Regions from separate parts of the Homo sapiens genome. Here all the other regions are linked to region 2. The links are contacts of gene promoters, found by promoter capture Hi-C in blood cells and fetal thymus (Javierre and others, 2016). All regions are on one chromosome and are shown on one strand. Each heading gives the region's core, a stretch centred on a gene start or on the middle of the fragment in contact. The rest is flanking DNA. Distances are from core to core; before and after follow the strand shown.

Evidence for each region. The method cuts DNA at HindIII sites, captures the fragments that hold promoters and counts their contacts. A CHiCAGO score of 5 or more calls a contact.
Region 1: a fragment that was not itself captured here is called in contact with the fragment with the promoter of CHMP4A in region 2 in 1 of 17 cell types (erythroblasts); the score reaches 5.3 in erythroblasts.
Region 3: a fragment that was not itself captured here is called in contact with the fragment with the promoter of CHMP4A in region 2 in 1 of 17 cell types (non-activated CD4 T cells); the score reaches 5.5 in non-activated CD4 T cells.

The regions. Positions count from the first base shown.
Region 1 is chr14:23,451,901-23,454,881 of GRCh38, reverse strand. No RefSeq gene overlaps it. Among named protein-coding and RNA genes, the nearest start is that of NGDN, 16 kb to the left of the region's middle. The HindIII fragment of the contact is 2,522 bases long and covers 164-2,685 here.
Region 2 is chr14:24,212,238-24,214,972 of GRCh38, reverse strand. CHMP4A (charged multivesicular body protein 4A) reads left to right here and starts at 1,485. Exons shown (of 6, transcript NM_014169.5): 1 at 1,485-1,564. The coding sequence starts at 1,534. It overlaps NEDD8-MDP1 (NEDD8-MDP1 readthrough), which reads left to right. Exons shown (of 7, transcript NM_001199823.3): 5 at 374-481; 6 at 578-663; 7 at 822-1,030. The coding sequence ends at 949. It overlaps MDP1 (magnesium dependent phosphatase 1), which reads left to right. Exons shown (of 6, transcript NM_138476.4): 4 at 374-481; 5 at 578-663; 6 at 822-1,030. The coding sequence ends at 949. RefSeq lists enhancers at 1-181, 1,336-1,630, 1,267-1,766, 1,194-2,002, 1,957-2,076. The HindIII fragment of the contact is 5,751 bases long and covers 793-2,735 here.
Region 3 is chr14:23,608,755-23,611,581 of GRCh38, reverse strand. No RefSeq gene overlaps it. Among named protein-coding and RNA genes, the nearest start is that of DHRS2, 26 kb to the left of the region's middle. The HindIII fragment of the contact is 2,476 bases long and covers 132-2,607 here.

The DNA.
Region 1 (2,981 bases), core at 175-2,674, 760 kb after region 2:
ATAATGTATTAATCATGTTTTTTAATTTTCTGTATTTTATGAGGTTTTGACATCTTAGGGGCCTGCTAATCCTGGAAAGACTGCCTCTTCCAGAGCTAACTAATTTCTAGAGGCAGTAAACAACTTGCCCATGAGCATCCAGCAAACCAACCAATCCAAAGCTTGTATCCCTAACCACCTCCTTTATCTAACTCTTGCACACCAAGCCAGTACTTCCCCTGCCCTAATTAATCCCAGGGCCAGAGACCAGACAACTAGAGATCACTGCTGTAACACAGAGCCTGCTGAAATTGTCCAGACTTGTCAAAGCTAAGCTATTTACCTTGCCCTGCCTTCCTTTCCTGTGGGAAACACAATAAAGGCTTGTGTCCATGCTTTTCTCTCTCTGTCTACCTCCTGACTGAACCGGATGCTTCTCCATCTGGCCCTGTGTGGCATGAGTTGTCCCCTCCCCTTAAGAACTGTAATAAGCTCTTCTTTCAAGGCAGTTGTCTCCATGTTTGTCATTTTACCATACTTGATTGAAACAAAATCTTCAGTACATTTTAAAACAGATAATACCAAAATCTCTGCCACATCTGAGTCTAGTTCTGATGCTGGCTATGTCTCTTTGGATTGTATTTTTTCTTGTCTTTTAGCACGCCTTGTAATTTTTTGCTGAAAGCAGACATGGTAATAGGAATTGAGGTAGACTGTGTGTGAAGTTTTATTTTTATTTTTATCTGACCAGGAGTTAGACTGTGTTTAGTTTGCTGCAGCAGTAGGTGTCAAAGATTTTAATTTCTTCTAAAGTCCTTGTGTTTGCCTCCTCTGTTGTCTTTGAGTTTCCTTAGAAACTCCTTCGTAAATAGAATCTAAGCCTTGCAGCCCTGTCAGCTATAATCCACTTTTACTATTCAGGAGTCCTGTTGATGTGGTAGCAAGATACTGGGTAGGAGAGCATTCTATAGTCCCATGATTGGAGCTCAGTATTTTAGTGGACCTGTGACTCTAGACTGTAACCTTCATAATTGCTTCTTAGGGTATTTTTTTGTTTTGTTTTGTTTTGTACCTCATATGTGAGATAAGAAGTCCAGAATGAATTGTTTCTTAGGGTATTTTTTTGTTTTGTTTTGTTTTTTACCTCATATGTGAGACAGGAAGTCCAGAATGTGATGGAGCTAGATAATTTCCCTTTCCCCAAGTAAAAGAAGACATCGGCAAAGGCTTTCCCCCTGCTGGATAGGCCTTAGTTGTGGAGAAAGCTCTGGTTTTATTTCTAAATGGTCACTTTACCCTCGCCCTGCCAAACATAAGGATATTTCTCTCCATTCTTCATCATGAGAACCTGGTGGGAGGTAAAACTCATGAAAGTGTGGGTTCTCCCCTTAGACTGGGGTCCCAGGAGTTTTTAACTCTCAAGCTAATTCACGCTCAGCCTCTGGCAATTCATCGAAGTTACCATTTAGGTGTTCCTGTCAGTTACTGGTTCCAGCACCTCCTGCTTCAGGTAAGCTGGCTTGTATTCTCCGTATTCACCCGTCTCTCCAGTTTTCAGGGTGATAGTTTGTCCTGTAGCCAAAATTCTCTGATAGAACTAAGAAAAGTTGTAGGTTTTCAGTTCAGCTTTCTTCTTGCTTTGAGAATGAGAGTGACCGACTTATAATCTCTTTACATGTTGGAGTGTTCACAATCAGAAGTGTTCCCACTAGATTCTATGTTAGTAACATGCCTTCGTTTTAAACTAAAACATTTTGTACATACTTATTTTTCAACTATAAAAATGTTATATTTATTAAATTAAAATAATAAGTATTTCAATTTAATTACCAATTATGACTCTATATAGGTATCACTATAACCATGCTGTCTATATCAAATATTCAAATAAACACATTATAATGTTAAATTAGTGTGAGAAAAACGCACTGGAGCAAATCAATCTATTGACAACAACTAGTTTGGTGATGTTTGTGTATACACTAGAAACAACACATATTCTTGATATGTTACTATAATACGACAATATCTTATGTTGATCGTTGAAGTAAAACAATCCTACCAAAACAACAAAGCTGTGTTTTACCGAAAGTATTTTACACTGCTTTAGTTTTTTAAGAGCTTTATTGCGGTATAATTTACATAGCATAAAATTCACCCCTTTTATACAATTCAATTATTTTTAAGGAAAATTTACATTTGTGCAAGCATCACCACAATCCAATTTAGAGCATTCCCAATGCTCCAAAGGGATCCCTTACACCCATTTGCAGTCCATTGCCATTTCCACCACCAGCTTCAGGCAGCCACTGCCTTCTGTCTTCATAGATTTTCCTTTTCTGGACATTTCATAGAAATGGAATCATAAAATATGTGGCCTTTTCATCTGGATTCTTTCATTTAGCATGTTTTTGAGGTTAATCCATGTTACATTAATAACATGTATCAGTACTCATTCCTTTTTATTGCTGAATAATATTCCATTGTATGGATGTACCACATTTTGTTTATCTGTTCACCTAATGATAAACATTGGGATTATTTCCACTTTTTGGATATTATGAATAATATCCAAGCGTTTATGAACAAACGCTTGTTTGAACTTGTTTATATAAGTCTTTGTGTGGATATATACTTTCTTTTCTATTGAGTAAATACCCAAAAGTGGATGGCTGAGTTATTTGGTACATGTATGTCAGTTAAGCTTTTAAGAAAAGTTCAAACTGTTTTCCAAAGTAGCTGTTGCATTTTACGTTCTCACCAGCAATGTTGGAGAGTTTTGGTTTCTCCACATCCTAGCCACAATTTATTATTGCCTTTCTTTTTTATTATAGTCACACTCATGGGTATGAAGTGCTATCTCATTGAGGTTTTAATTAGAATTTCTATAATGATTGATGATGTTGAGCATATTTTGTGTGCTTGTTATACATTTGCATATCTTTGTTGAAATATCTATAAATCTTTTCTTTCTTTAACCTTGCTAATTAGCTGACTTTAAG
Region 2 (2,735 bases), core at 236-2,735:
GACCCTATCTCTACCAAAAAAAAAAAAAAAATTGTAGTGGCGTGCACCTGTAGTCCCAGCTACTTGGGAGGCTGAGGTGGGAGGATCACTTGAGCCCAGGAGGTCGTGACCACAGTGAGCCGTGATTGGGTCGCTGCACTCCAGTCTGGGCAACAGAGCTAGACCCTGTCTCAAAACAAAAGCTAAAACATTGGCCCAGCACCAATTGTGTCAAATAGGAAGGCAATGGAGTTAAACAGAGGCTGAGGATGCCTGTCCATCCCGGAAAAACAGCAAGTTGATTTCCCTGGTTATACTTACTAACTTTGCTTAATAAGTTAACGTAGCCCTGGCCCTTCACTTTGCTAATCCCATCTTTTACACCGTTTTGCAGGACAAGTGAGATAGAAGGGGCCAACCAGCTACTGGAGCTCTTTGACCTCTTCAGGTACTTTGTTCATCGGGAAATCTATCCAGGCAGCAAGATCACACACTTTGAGAGGTATGCGGAGATAAGGGAGGAGCAGGGTGAGAAAGTATCAGAGAGGCCTGGGAAACCAAGATACTAGCTTGGTTACTCCTGCCCTGTCTTGAATAGGTTGCAGCAGAAGACTGGAATTCCTTTCTCCCAGATGATCTTCTTTGATGATGAGAGGCGGAATATTGTAGACGTCAGCAAACTGGGTACTGAGTGATGAGGAACAGCCATTTGGGGTCCCTAGGAGGGATTAGGTAGATACATACAGGTTGGATAGTTTGCCCTATAGGTGGCACTCACAAAGGTCAGAGTAATAATGGAGAACCCTGAAAGCTTAATGAAATGTGACTTCTTATCTTTCTAGGTGTTACCTGCATTCACATCCAGAATGGAATGAATCTTCAAACTCTAAGTCAAGGGTTAGAGACATTTGCGAAGGCCCAAACTGGGCCTTTGAGGTCCAGCCTTGAGGAGAGCCCATTTGAGGCCTAAACTGAAAGGAAATCAAGAAGGCATTTTCAGGTGCATTTGTAATTTATTAAAGTTCATCTGTGTGTGACAGAAGAGATTTTACCCACAGTGTGGGGAGTTTCTATTTTTCTAGCCTGTGAAATGGGGTTGGTTGTCCTGAGGTGCAGAGACCAGAATGTGAGACATTAGACTGCATCAGGTTTGCCATCTAAACTTAGGGCAACCCCAAGTGCTTGAACCTATACCACCCCACTTTCCTGAGCTCTGTAAAGAGCATGAAGTTTTCCCACTGACCCCATACACTGAGGTGCCATCACACTGCACATTTCCTTCCGGAGAACAAGCACGTACTCAGGTGGAGATAGAACTGTCTTTTTACTTAATAGAAAATGATGTGGCAGCTTTAAGAGGAGCGCGTCGGTCTGGGGCTGGTGGCTTGGGTCACGTGACACCGGTGGTCTCGTTTGCGCCTCTTGATGTCGCGGCGGCGCCCTGAGGACGGATTGGGCAAGGCTGGTCCCTGTGTGATGAGACATCACCCTCCCAGGAGCAAGGCGGAAGTCTGGAGGACGCTGAGGGGCGGAGGCGGGAGAGGCGAGCTCGCGATGAGTGGTCTCGGCAGGCTCTTCGGGAAGGGTGAGCCAGGGTGGGACTGGCCAGCCAGGAGGCGCTGGCTGGTGCAGGGGAAGAGGAGACCCCGGCGAGATTCGGCCGGACCGCTGCGCCGGGCAGGGGAAGAGAATCAGGAGACAGGCTGACTGGAAAACCCCGGCGGCCGATGGCGGAGCAAGGCTCATCGCCGGTGCCAAAAGGCACACCATGTCGGGGCGCCTTGTTCCCGTCCGCCGTCCTCCCCCACTCTCAGAGGGAAGAACTCAAGATCTGGGAGGGGACTTGAGTTGAGGGCGTGGCGATCGTGCTGACTCCCACTGTTCAGGCTTGAAGACGAGTTTCCTGCTGTCTTCAGCCATTTTCAAAACCTTGTTCTATAATACTTTGTGCTGGGCAAGAGGGATCTAAGGTGAAGAAGAAAGACTGCCTTCTTAGCCCGGCGCGGGGGCTCACGCCTGTACTCGCAACACTTTGGGAGGCCGACGTGGGTGGATCATGAGGTCAGGAGTTTGAGATCAGCCTGGCCAATATGGTGAAACCCCGTCTCTACTAAAAATATAAAAATTGGCCGGGCGCGGTGGCTCACGCCTGTAATCCCAGCACTTTGGGAGGCCGAGGTGGGTGGATCACCTGAGGTCAAGAGTTCGAGACCAGCCTGGACAACATGGTGAAACCTTGTCTCTACTAAAAATACAAAAAAAAAAAAAAAATTAGCTGGTTGTGGTGGCACGCGCCTGTAGTCCCAGCTACTGGGGGAGGCTGAGACAGGTGAATCGCTTGAACCCAGGAGGCGGAGGTTGTAGTGAGCCAAGATTGCACCAATGCACTCCAGCCTTGGTGACAGAGGGAGACTCCATTCTCAAAAAAAAAAAAAAAAATTAGGTGGGCATGATGGTGTGTGCCTGTAGTCCCAGCTACTCAGGGAGGCTGAGGCAGGAGAATCACTTGAACCCGGGAGACGGAGGTTGCAATGAGCTGAGATCATGCCACTGCACTCTGGCCTGGGCAACAGAGCGAGACTCTGTCTCAAAAAAAGAAGTCCTGGCGCGGTGGCTCATGCCTGTAATCAAAACACTTTGGGAGGCCGAGGCGGGCAGATCACCTGAGGTTGGGAGTTCGACACCAGCCTGACCAACATGGAGAAAGCCTGTCTGTACTAAAAACACAAAAAATTAGCCAGGCATGGTGGCACATG
Region 3 (2,827 bases), core at 120-2,619, 600 kb after region 2:
AAATGAATGTTGTATAACTGGTTTAAAGATAAAGCTTGCCTTTGAACCAGATTGGTCGGGCTCCAAAACCACACTCTCCAGAGTATGGGATTGTAGTATTTCAATTTTCAACTCAGAAATTCACTGAAGCTTGCCCTCTACTCTAAAGATGTCTACAGTCCTGTGGGGAAGGCATATTTAAGTAACTACAAGCCAGGTAGAAAAACTGCGGTGTCACAAGGAAAGGGCACACAAAGTGCCATGAGGGAGTGATAACTTTTAACTAGTAGCTCAAGGAAGGATTTGAGGTGAAAGTGGCATTTGCACTGGGTTTGGAAGACTCTGGACAGGCAGAGATGAGAAGGAGCATGTAACTGAAACTACAAGTTGTCTCCTAATGTCTGTTTCCTCTTCTTCCACAGTAATCATATTCCAAAATGTTAGCTGTGCAATTGACCACTGAGAATAAAGGCTATATTTCCCAGCTGCCCTTGCAGCCAGGCACGGCTACCTGACCATGTTCTGCATAAAAGGTTATAGAGAAGTCAGGGATGAAACTTCCATGAGGTGTTCTCAAGTGGAAGGAGCATGCCCACCTCCTTTCTTTGTCTCCCTCCTGCTGTCTAGAACATGACTCTGATGACTGGAGACAAAGCAGCTATCTTTGGCCTCAGAAGGCACATGTTGAGGATGTGGACTACAATGTTGAGGCAGTCTGATCACGAAGGCACGATATGAGGCCCGCTACAGTCTTGTTTAAGCCACTGTTACAAGTGTCTTAGGTTGGGTTACCACAGCAGATCCTAAGACAAGGCTTTATGTGCAAGTAGTTTATTAAACAGATGCTCCCAGCAGGGAGCAATGGCTCCTATCTATAATCCCAGAACTTTGGGAGACCAAGACAGGAGGATTGCTTGAGGCCAGAAGTTTCAGACCAGCCTGAGTAACATAGTGAGACCCCTGTCTCTACAAAAAATTTAAAAATTAGCTGATCAGGTCATGTGTGCCTGTAGTCCCAGCTACTCAGGAAGCTGAGGCAGGAAGTTCCTTTGAGCATAGTAGTTTGAGGTTACAGTGAGCTATGATTATGCCACTGCACTCCAGCCTTAGTGGCAAAGTGAGACCTTGTCTCAAAAATAAAAATTAAAAAAATGCTCCCAGGAGAAACCAGTAAGGGAGTGTGGAAAGTAAGACAGGGAAGGGAGGAGGACAAGCAAGGGAATGTTTCAGCAAAGCCCCAGCCTTAGCCTGGTCCCAAAGGTCAGTTCTGGAGTGTAAACTACACCTCACAGTTTGCCCAGATTTCAGACAATGGAACTAGGCTGTTACCTAGTTCAGCTAAAGGCTGCCCCTGCTTCTCTCGATGTGCAGAAGCTGTGGGAGATGATTAAACGGGTCACAGGGGCTCTGGTGCAACCTCAATGGGCCCCTTACACTGGGTTTTCTCTCACTCATAACTTAACCTAATCCTAAAAAGTACCAAAAACATTTCTGGCAGAGGGGAGAGTATAAATAAAGTGCACAGAACCTGAAGGAACAAGAGGCTATATGAAAGTATTGGAAAGGAAGAGGACAGGAAAGAAAGAAATAGGAAACAAATTTGGAAAACCAAACTGTAGTCACTGGGACTTGATATGGTTTGGCTGCGTCCCCACCCAAAACTCATCTTGAATTGTACCTCCCCACATCTCGCTTCTGCACTGCCCTAGCAGAGGCTCTCCATGAGGGCCCTGCCCCTGCAGCAAACTTCTGCCTGGACATCCAGGCATTTCCATACACAGCAGTCGGGGCCTGGAAATGTAGGGTTGAAGCCCCCACACAAAGTCCCCACTGGGGCACTGCCTAGTGGAGCACCATCCTCCAGACCCTAGAATGGTAGATCCACCAACAGCTTGCACCATGCACCTGGAAAAGCCGCAGACACTCAACACCAGCCCATAAAAGCAGCCGGGAGGGACTTTGTACCTTGCAAAACCGCAGGAGTAGAATGACATGGTTTGGCTATGTCCCCATACTGTTCTCATGATAGTGAATAAGTCTCACGAGATCTGATGTTTTTATAAGGGGCTTCCCCTTTTGCATGGCTCTCTATCTTGCCTGCCACCATGTAAGAAGTCCCTTTGCTCTTCCTTGGTCTTCTGCCATGACTGTGAGGCCTCCCCAGCCATATGGAACTGTGAGTCCATTAAACCTCTTTTTCTTTATAAATCACCCAGTCTTGGGTATGTTTTATCAGCAGCGTGAAAATGAACTAATACAGAACTGTATAAAATTTTGAATTTCTGGCCAATGCATAAACAAAGGGAAACCAAAAGGACTTTGAATCTGATGATTCAGAAGATTAATCTGGCAACTATGTGTGAGAGGAATTGGAATGAAACTTGTGTAGGGTAATACCCATTATGAGGTCATATCTATAATCCAGGCAAGAGGTAATGGTGGCACAACCCCAGGTGATGGTGCTGGGAAGGGAAAGTAGAGAATAGTTGCGAAGTCTTACAGAGAAAGATCTGGTCTTTCTAAATGCTTTGACACGAGAGAAAAGAGACAGAGAGGATCCAAACATGAAGCCAGGGACAATGGTGGCATTGCCAACAAAAATAGGTAACAGAGGAGAAGAAACAAGCTTGATAGAAAATATGAATTCTACCTATTGACATGGTGACTTTGAGATGAAGGGAAGCCTTCTAAATGGAGTTGTCAAGAAGGCAGTTAGAAATGCAAGACTGATAACAGAATTCAAGCATGGAGCCATGGATGTGTGCATTGTCTACAGAGATGTGATAGAAGCCATGACTGTGGATAGGATTACTAAGGGAGGGAGGGCAGAGACAGAAGAGGAAAAGGC